Linked DNA regions of Homo sapiens: region 2 is linked to region 1. The links are contacts of gene promoters, found by promoter capture Hi-C in blood cells and fetal thymus (Javierre and others, 2016). All regions are on one chromosome and are shown on one strand. The core of a region is centred on a gene start or on the middle of the fragment in contact, and the rest is flanking DNA. Distances in the headings are between cores, read along the strand shown. Region 1 holds the start of TMEM254 (transmembrane protein 254). Region 2 has its middle 13 kb from the start of RPS24.

Region 1 (4,878 bases), core at 1,621-4,120:
TGTGGCAGGAGAATCACTTGAACCCAGAAGGCCAAGGTTGCAGTGAGCTGAGATTGCGCCATTGCACTACAATCTGAGCAATAGAGTGAGACTCTGTCTCAAAAAAAAAAAAAAGTTTTGGTATGGTAAAGGCTTGATCAGAACTGTACTTGAAAAAGATGATCCTGTTATTTGTCAGACAGATTCAATAAAGGGACTGCATGTGGGCTGAAGTGGCAGGAAGTAGGAAGGAGTGACTGACTCATGAGACAGTGGAGATGAAGCCATGATTTAATCTAGAAGGATTAGATATTGTATTACCCAATCAGTAGAACTCTTGACAGCTGATTAGTCTGCAATCTTTATATGATATGGGGGAAGTCAAAGCAAGGAATCTGGGTACAAGGTAGAAAGAAAGTGCTGTTCACATAGAGTAGGCCGGGCGAGGTGGCTCATACTTGTAATCCCAACACTTTGGGAGGCCGAGGCAGGCAGATCACCTGAGGTCAGGAGTTCGAGACCAGCCTGGCCAACATGGTGAAACCCCGTCTCCACAATTAGCCAAGCGTGGTGGTGCACACCTGTAATCCAAGCTACTCAGGAGGCTGAGACAGGGGAATCACTTGAAGTGGGGAGGCAGAGGTTGCAGTGAGCCGAGATCGCAACACTGCACTCCAGCCTGGGCAACAAGAGCAAAACTCCATCTCAAAAAAAAAAAAAAAAAAAAAAAAAACCACAGACAGGGTAGCCTTGGTGAGGATGGACTCTGTGGATAATGATAATGGACTTCTTGTCTTTGAGGTGTGAGTAATCTTTGGTAAAGGTGACCAACTGGGAAGAGGTGAGGGCTGAAGAGATTATTTTAGTCAGCTGAAGGTGAAAATTGAATCTGATAGGTACTGAAAACACAAAGAAGATAATAAGCAAAACTTATTCTAGGAGAGAAGAAAGAAAAGGAAAGCTGAGAAAACAAGGAGTTATTCAGAAGGAGGAGAAGAATAAAGAGGGTGGTGTGATCAAGGATGATAAGGACTAAGAAAACACCAATTGTTACAATTGTTACTGTTAATCTTGATATTCAAGAGCACTGTGGTCTACCTGGGAAATGGATTTCCTCACATATTCTGAAATTCATTCTTTAAGACTTTATATCCCAAGATACTCACGTAAAAAATGAGGAAAGAGAACCTTGGTTGGTTCCAGAGTGCCCTCTCTGGAACTGGAACACTCAGCTGCCAATTGTTTTCCAGTATTCCTCACCCACTTGGGCATGACAGGACCCTGTGCTGTTTCTTCTTCTTTGAAATAAGGACAATAGTTTACTGCCTAGGATTGTTTTAAGAATTAAATTAGTTAATTATTGTATAGTACTTAGAACAATGCCTTGAACATAGTAGGTGTTCAATAAATACCAGCTACAGTATAGTAACTTTTTTTTTTTTTTTTTGACGGAGTCTCACTCTATAGCCCAAGCTGAAGTGCAGTGATTGGATCTCGGCTCACTGCAACCTCCGCCTCCGGTGCTCAAGCAATTCTCGTGCCTCAGCCTCCCAAGTAGTTGGGACTATAGACACGCGCCACCACCCCCAGCTAATTTTTTGTATTTTAGTAGAGACAGGGTTTCACCATGTTCTCCAGGGTGGTCTCGAACTCCTGAGCGATCCACCCACCTCGGCCTCCAAAAGTGCCAGGATTATAGGCTTGAGCCACTGCGCTTGGCCAGTAACCCATTTTTAAGGCCCAGGTGAAATAGTTTTTCTATTTCTATGATTTTCTATTTCTATGATTAAATAGTGTTTAATCAGACACTTCAGCTGCATATACCTCCCACAGCTCATTGATGATACAACAGTTCGCACAGGGCCTGGCACACATGCTAAAGGCTCAGCAGTATTGATAATCACCCACACTTACAAAGCACTATGGGCCAGACACTGCTGTGCTTTCTTTACAGATATCAACTCATTTAACCCACCCTAAAAACCCTGAGGTTCCCAAAACTGGCATATCCTCATGTTACAGATACAGAAACTAAGACACAGCCGGGCTAAGTAATTAATCTAAGCTTACACAAATAGCCGAGACAGAGCCAGGACTTAAATCCAGGCAGCCTGTTTCACAGTCCCTGCTCATAACCATGGTGCTGTATAGTTCCAAACATCTTAACTAATGAGGACAGCATTATTTCTCAAGGTGCACAGCACAGAGAACTTCAAAAATTAGACTCTTAGTAAAACACCATCTTTTTTTTTTTTTTTTGAGACAGGGTCTTGCTGTGTTGCCCAGGCTGGAGTGCAGTGGCGTGATCTGGGCCCACTGCAACCTGCACCTCTCAGGTTCAAGAGAGTCTTGTCTCAGCCTCTGGAGTTGCTGGGACTACAGGCAGGCACCACCGCGCCCAGCAAATTTTTTGTATTTTTAGTACAGACGGGGTTTCACCATGTTGACCACGCTGGTCTCAAACTCCTGACCTCAAGTGATCTGCCCGACTCGGCCTCCCAAATTGCTGGAATTTATTCCAACACCTCATTCATTCATTCATTCATTCGAGACAGAGTCTAGCTATGTTACCCGGGCTGGTCTCAAACTCCTGGGCTCAAGGGATCTTTCTACCTCAGCCTCCCAACGTGCTGAGATTACAGGGACACGCCACCGCGCCAGCCCGAACATCTTTATCTTAAACCCAGAAAAGTGACAGGAGTGTCTCCCCTACAAGATGATGACCAGCCCTCCAGACCTGAGCCCAGGTGTGATTCCAAGGCCCCTGTACTGGGGCCAGACAGGGAGACTCGCTCTCAGGGACTTCCCAACCAGCACCATCTTCTCCCTGCGGGGATGGCGAGGGAGCGCGGGCCGGCCCCGGCCCTGCCTCCGCGCTCGCGCTCGACGGTGTCCTGAAGCGCGCTCCCGGGGAGGTGTTGCAGCCATGGCTACGGCAGCCGGCGCGACCTACTTTCAGCGAGGCAGTCTGTTCTGGTTCACAGTCATCACCCTCAGCTTTGGCTACTACACAGTAAGGACAGCCGCTGGAGCGCTACGGTCTGACGAACGAGCGAGCGCTCGGTTCACCCCAGGACCTGGGCTCACAGGCCGCGGGCCGGGGGAAGTCGTGCAAGCACAATCCCGACTCCCGCGCGCTAGGAGCGGAGGGGAGGGGACCAGACTCCGCAATGAGAGCAAGCATACTGGTCCGCCAGGGTCTTGGGCGGGCGCCCAGGGCCCTGAGAAACCGGCTAGCCAGGCTTTTCTTATATGGGGGCGGGGACGGCTGGGGAGCTCCCAGCCAACTCTGTGTCTGGGTTTTTCAAGAGGATGGTGAAGTCGGAGGCCAGCAATGCGGCTACCGCCTATTTCCGTCCAGCAAGACCCTTGCCCTCTCTGGTCACAGTCCTGGGGCTGGGCTACTTCGCGGTGAGGCGTGGGGTGGGGCGGGGCGGGCCTCTGTTTTGGCCCGCCGGGCCCTCGTAGGGCGAGGGGAGCTCTGGGAACGGGGCCTGTGCGCACGCGCATCTGACGGTTGTCTCGGTTACTCATGTAAGCGGAAATTCGGTGGGCTCTTAGGATAGTTTCTGCTTTCTAGTGTTCCTGTCTTTGGGTCCTCACCTCTGCATGGTTACTAACGGGTTATCCGAGCCTAAGCCTCTCACGAAGCGGAAAGTCAAGTTAACAGACTGCCATAGGCCTGCCAAGTCAGAATAGGGCTTCCGAAGCAGAATGTTTGAGCCAATAGGAATTGTTTGGAAAACGGGGATAAATCTAAAGGATGGGTAGGATTTAAGTGGTAAGGGAGGATAAAGAGGCTATAACTGTTCTGACATAGGTGTGGAAGCAAGAAGAAAGCTGTACCTAGAAAAAGAGCGACGTTTGTTTGGCTGAGAAATAATCTGTTTAAAGGATAACGAGAAAGATGCGTGGAAAAGTAGGTTGGGGGCTAAGGTGGTAGTTTTGTGTTTTTTTGAGACGGAGTCTCGCTCTGTCACCCAGGCTGGAGTGCAGTGGGGCGATCTCGGCTCACTGCAACCTCTGCTTCCCAGGTTCAAGCGATTCTCATGTCTTTACCTGTAGCTGGGATTACACTATGCCCAGCTATTTTTTTGTGTTTTTAGTAGACATGGGTATTGGTGAGGCTGGCCTCGAACTCCTAACGTCAAGTGATAAGGTGGTAAAATTTTGAAGGAAGGCGAAGCTATTTGGGTATACCAATAGATCCTGGAGATTGGAGATTTGTCTTGTCCACAGTGTTGTTTGTTGGTGTCAAATCTGACAACCTATGTCCTGATTTCCCCATATGTACAATGGAGGTGTTGAACTGAAAATTTTCAAAGGTGCATTTCTGTTCTACGATTTAGTGTCTGTGACTAGTTAGAATATAGTTGGAGGAAAGCTTTGGGGACTTCAAATTGGGATCTTGTGGAGCTGGCAGATGCTCCCCTTTCCCTTTGGTTTGGGAGGATGCAGTGATATTTGTGCATTATTTAACTTTCAGATGTGAAACAACATCGTGAGAGAGGTAGTACTGCTCTTGACAAAGATTTGAATGGGACAATACATTTTGAAACTGTTGAGTTATTCTCAGAAAAGTCTTAGCTGACAGAAGTTACAATACAGAGGCTGAAAGTTAAGATTACGAAAAATTTATGTGATTAAGCAGTTGCTATTAAAATGTCACAACCTTATCTCACTTATTTTCCATCTCTATGCAGTGGATCATTCTCAGTTTTAGCCGTACAAAAAGGGAAAGCCGAGAAAGGAATTCTAAATTAAACAGAGGTTTGGCTGGAGCCAGTTTCTGCAGTAAAGAAACTAGCCAAAGCACATAAACTCAAAATTTGCTAATATCTTTTATAAAATAATGGTTTTGGTGGAATGTATTAATAGGAGTCAGCCAGGCATGGTGGT
Region 2 (4,878 bases), core at 1,328-3,827, 2.0 Mb before region 1:
CATTTGAGGCCATGAAAAATAGGAAAGAAAGCAGGGAGATGGGAGCAGGCAGTGTGGGACAAGGTGAGACCAGTCATTCTGCAAGGGGAAGAGAGGATGACACTGGGGAGGTGGGAGCAGAGTGGGTAGGTAGGCATTCTCTTGAATCAACAAGATGGAAGGCCCTACATGACTGATGCCTTTGAGCAGAGTTTTGCACAATGCATTTCTGGTGGGAGATACTCCATTTCAAAAATAGTCTTCAGGTTGGCTGCTAGAGCACAGAAGTATGACACCTGACTCATTTGTGCTGGCAGAGAGGCTCTCCTGGGTTTTAGAGCTTTGTGAACACACCTCCATACATTAATCCAACTGTCCTTCCCCATCCACTCACCCTTGAACTTCCCGCATGCCAGATGTTGAGGGGAGGCAGAAATGAGACCTGCCTCCCAGTGCCCACAGTCTGGATGAGAGGGTACAGGTGAGGTCCTGGTAAGAAACGAAGCTGGAGAGGTCAGCGGAGAATAAATCAGGGAGGATCTTGTATGCCAAGCTAAGGATTTCACTTGTTCAGTGTTTTGGTTAAAGAAAATAAAACGTTGGAGAATTAGATGTTCTGCAGTGGATTGTGTGTTCTTTTCACATGCCGAGTTCCTCCACACAGGAAATACTTTGGCAACGCTCTGGCTGCTCATCATGCATATTGGAGAGGGAATTTATGTAGAAGGTTATGGGTCGATGAGATGGCATCCAAGTATTTATCGTATTTTTTTGAGATGGAGTTTCACTCTTGTTGCCCCGGCTGGAGTGCAATGGCACGACCTCAGCTCACTGCAACCTCCGCCTCCTGGGTTCAAGCAATTCTCTGCCTCAGCTTCCCGAGTAGCTGGGATTACAGGCATGTGCCACCATACCTGGCTAATTTTGTATTTTGTAGTAGAGACGGAGTTTTTCCATGTTGGTCAGGCTGGTCTTGAACTCCTGACCTCAGGTGATCTGCCCACCCCGCCTCCCAAAGTGCTGGGATTACCGTCGTGAGGCACCGCGCCTGGCCCCAAGTATTAATAACTCGGAAAAAGGGACCAGATCAGGAATCAGGAGTCACAGTTCCTGATCTCCACTCAGCTTACAATCAGCTGGGGCCATGGATGGGCAAAAGACTTCCCTTTTCTGGGCTTCTATTTCCCTCCCTGTGTCTGTCTGCTATCCGGGCTAGATGAGTAATTCCGAAACCTGGCAGGTGGGGGCTTTCTTTTTTTCTTTTTGTGAGATGGAGTGTTGCTTTGTCACCCAGGCTGGGGTGCAGTGGCACTGTTTTGGCTCACTGCAACCTCTGCCTCCTGAGTTCAAGCGATTCTCCTGCCTCAGTCTTCTGAGTAGCTGGAACTACAGGCGCCTGCCACCATGCTTGGGTAATTTTTTGTATTTTTAGTAGAGATGGGGTTTCACCATGTTGGCCAGGCTGGGGGCTTGTTAAAAATACAAATGCTGGCTGGGTGTGGTGGCTTATACCTGTAATCCCGGCACTTTGGGAGGCTGAGGCGGGTGGATCACTTGACGTCAGGAGTTCGAGACCAGCCTGGCCAACATGGTGAAACATCTCTACTAAAAATACAAAAATTAGCTGGGCGTGGTGGTGCGTGCCTGTAATCTCAATTACTCAGGAGGTGGAGGCACGAGAATTGCTTGAACCCAGGAGGCGGAGGTTGCAGTGAGCCGAGACCATGCCACTGCACTCCAGCCTGGGTGACAGAGCGAGGCTCTGTCTCAAAAACAACAAATGCCCAGCCTCTTGCCCCAGTTTTCAGAGTTAGTAGATCTGGGTAGCGCCCAAGCACCTGATGTTTTAATAGCTTCCCAGGTGAGGCTGCTTCAGGAAACTGGACTGAAGCTTCCCAGGTGAGCTCAGGCTTGGGAAGCTGGACTGAAGTTTCTCTAAGATCCGTTCTGCCTCTGAGAATTCTGTCTCTAATGGGAATACTGTCTCTGCCCTCAAGAAGCTGGCAGATGAACAGTAATACTATTGCTAATTAATGACCACAGAATAGCTAACATTTATTGTTTACCATGTGCCAGGTACTGAGCTAAGTCTTGCACAAATTATCTCATTTACCTTTTTTTTTTTTTTTTTTTGAGAATGAGTCTCGCTCTGTCACCCAGGCTGGAGCTCTGGATTGCACCAGTGGCGCAATCTCAGCTCACTGCAACCTCCACCTTCTGGGTTCAAGTGATTCTCCTGCCTCAGCCTCCATAGTAGCTGGGATTACAGGTGTGTACCACCACACCTGGCTAATTTTTGTATAGTAGAGACAGGGTTTCTCCATGTTGGCCAGGCTGGTCTTGAACTCCAGACCTCAGGTGACCCACCTGCCTCAGCCTCCCAAAGTGCTGGGATTACAGGCATGATCCACTGCACCTGGCCTCATTTACCTGCACTCGGAGGGAAGTACTATTACCCCCATTTTATAGATGAGGAAATTGAGGCTCAAAGAGGTTAAGGAACTTGGTTAAAGTTACACAACTATGGCATCCTATGATAAGCCTGGGGGCATTTGTGGAACATCTTGCCAAGGAGCTAGAAATGGTCCTGAGCCTTAAATGGGTGGAGGTGATTAGCTGAGGCAGCGATTCTCCAGGTGTGGTCCTGGACAGCAGCAGCAGTGTCACCAGGGAACTTGCTAGAAATTCAATTTCTTGGGCTCCACCCTAGAATTACTGAATCAGAAGCTGTGGGTGGGGCCAGGTAACCTGTTTTTTTTTTTGAGTTGCCCAGGCTGGAGTGCAGTGGCGTGATCTTGCTTCACTGCAACCTCCGCCTCCTGGGTGCGATTCTCCACCTCAGCTTCCTGAGTAGCTGGGACTACTGGTGCCTGCCACCACGCCTGGCTAATTTTTTTTTTTTTTGTACTTTTTAGTAGAGATGGGATTTCACCATGTTGGTCTGGCTGGTCTTGAACTCCTGACGTCAGGTGATCCGCTGGCCTCGGCCTCCAAAAGTGCTGGGATTATAGGTGTGAGCCACCGCGTCCAGCCAGAACCTGTGTTTTGATAAGCTCTCCAGGTGATTCAGATGCATGCTAAAGTTTGAGAACCACTGAGCTTAGGGAAGGGGAGGATATTCCAGAGGGGGACAGCTGTGGAGACCCGGTAGGACAGTGCTGTAGACTGCCCCATCCCTGCCTTTTCACTTGGTGAAATAAAGACGTGTGATGCACTATGCAGACTCCCACAAGGGGGCACTGTGGGCACAGACGTGGAAGCGGTCTGCTTTGTTGTCAAGACCGCTACCCTTGTGGAAGCATGAAAAAAGCTTGATGCCAGATCAACTGGAGAGGTCACTCTTTCTTCTCAGAGAAGGTCTAATGGGGGTGGTAATCTTGTTTATAGGATTCGGCCCTCGTAGGGAAGCTGAACCTGGAGGGCTTTCTGCTGTTCATATGTGCATGGTGATGTCTACCCATCCGTGCTGCGAGGTCTCTGCAGATCCTGTGCAAACAGCATTCCCCCTTTTGTAGCTGCCCAGCCAGGCAGCTTGCGGTTTCTATTGGGGGAGGTGGGGGCCGAAGGCTGGGAACCCCAGCAGCCCGATTCTGCTTCAGCCTTCTGCCTACAGTGCTATGCCTCTGTCCTATTCTTTGACAAGCATGGGTCCGGGGCCACAGTGCTGGGTCCAAGACCTGTTTTCAAGCCTTAGCTCTGCCCCACCACACTTTAAGATCTCTGGCAAGACCCCTTTCTCCTCTGGGTCTCAGTTTCCTACACTGTAGGATGAGAGAGTGGTGCTGAGAAAGTGGCTGTCAACATCTCTTTCCACTATAAAATTCTGCCCTGGGAGTTGAGGAAGAGACTGCCTTGTGCTTTTCAAGGACCTCGGATTGCAGGGGATCTGTAAACCCTGCTACATGACATCCATCTCCAGTAGCCACTTAAGGAAGCATTTCCAGGGATATGGTGCAAGTCAGTAAGGTGGAATCTCTCAAACAAGATTTTTTAAAAAGTCCATATCTTCAGACATCCAGAATTTGCTTTTATAGGTTTCTATTCTGCACTGTTTGGAAGAAGGAAAATTTATACCATGTTCTCTTTTCTGCTGCAGTGTGTATTTCTTCCAAAAATACATTGCCTCGGAGGGTCTTTGGCATTCACCTCGTTAATCCAGGGATTGGCATCCTATACTCTCGGTGACTGCTCACCCAGCTGAGCCACTGCTCTGCCTGGGCAGGAAATCTCCAGAACTGCCTTTTCAGAGCGCTATAGATGTGCTCATCCCTGGGTTATAAGGGGATTCAAAAGAGTGGTCCAGCCCTCTGCTGGCTCCCACCGTCGATGATGATATTCAGAGAGTCTGGTTAGAAATTGCCCAACCCAGCCGCGTGCGGTGGCTCACGCCTGTAATCACGTTGGGAGGCCAAGATGGGCAGATCACAAGGTCAGGAGTTCGAGACCAGCTTGGTCAATATGGTGAAACCCCGTCTCTACTAAAAACACAAAAATTAGCCGGGCATGGGGGCATGCACCTGTGGTCCCAGCTGCTCAGGAGGCTGAGGCAGAAGAATCGCTTGAACCTGGGAGAGGGAGGTTGCAGTGAGCCGCGATTGCACCACTGCACTCCAGCCTGGGCGACAGAGCGAGAGTCCATCTCAAAAAAAAAAAAAAAAAAAAAATTGCCCAACCCATAGGCAAACATTGTTAACTGCAGCTGTCCTTGGTGGAGGAAACAAGTTAAACATGATGTCTCTTTCCATCAGGCCTCCTTGGAGCGGGGAAGGAGAGCTCTTCAGTTCCTTTGGCACCTTCACGCAGCATGCAAGACGGGCTGCTTTTTCTTCTGTTTATGGATGAGGCACAGAGGGTAGATGACTTGCCCCAAGTCCTTCAGCTCATTCATGCTGGGGAAAG

Evidence for each region. Contacts are between HindIII fragments. The CHiCAGO score rates a contact against its expected background, and 5 or more counts as called.
Region 2: a contact is called between a fragment that was not itself captured here and the fragment with the promoter of TMEM254 in region 1, in 2 of 17 cell types (non-activated CD4 T cells and naive CD8 T cells). The highest score is 6.1, in non-activated CD4 T cells.

Annotation. Positions count from the first base shown.
Region 1 is chr10:80,075,795-80,080,672 of GRCh38, forward strand. It overlaps TMEM254 (transmembrane protein 254), which reads left to right and starts at 2,871. Exons shown (of 4, transcript NM_025125.4): 1 at 2,871-2,992. The coding sequence starts at 2,906. It overlaps TMEM254-AS1 (TMEM254 antisense RNA 1), which reads right to left and starts at 3,399. Exons shown (of 4, transcript NR_027432.1): 1 at 2,933-3,399. The HindIII fragment of the contact is 2,319 bases long and covers 2,043-4,361 here.
Region 2 is chr10:78,044,254-78,049,131 of GRCh38, forward strand. It overlaps a transcript of RPS24 not described here. Among named protein-coding and RNA genes, the nearest start is that of RPS24, 13 kb to the left of the region's middle. RefSeq lists an enhancer at 3,317-3,376. The HindIII fragment of the contact is 1,419 bases long and covers 1,869-3,287 here.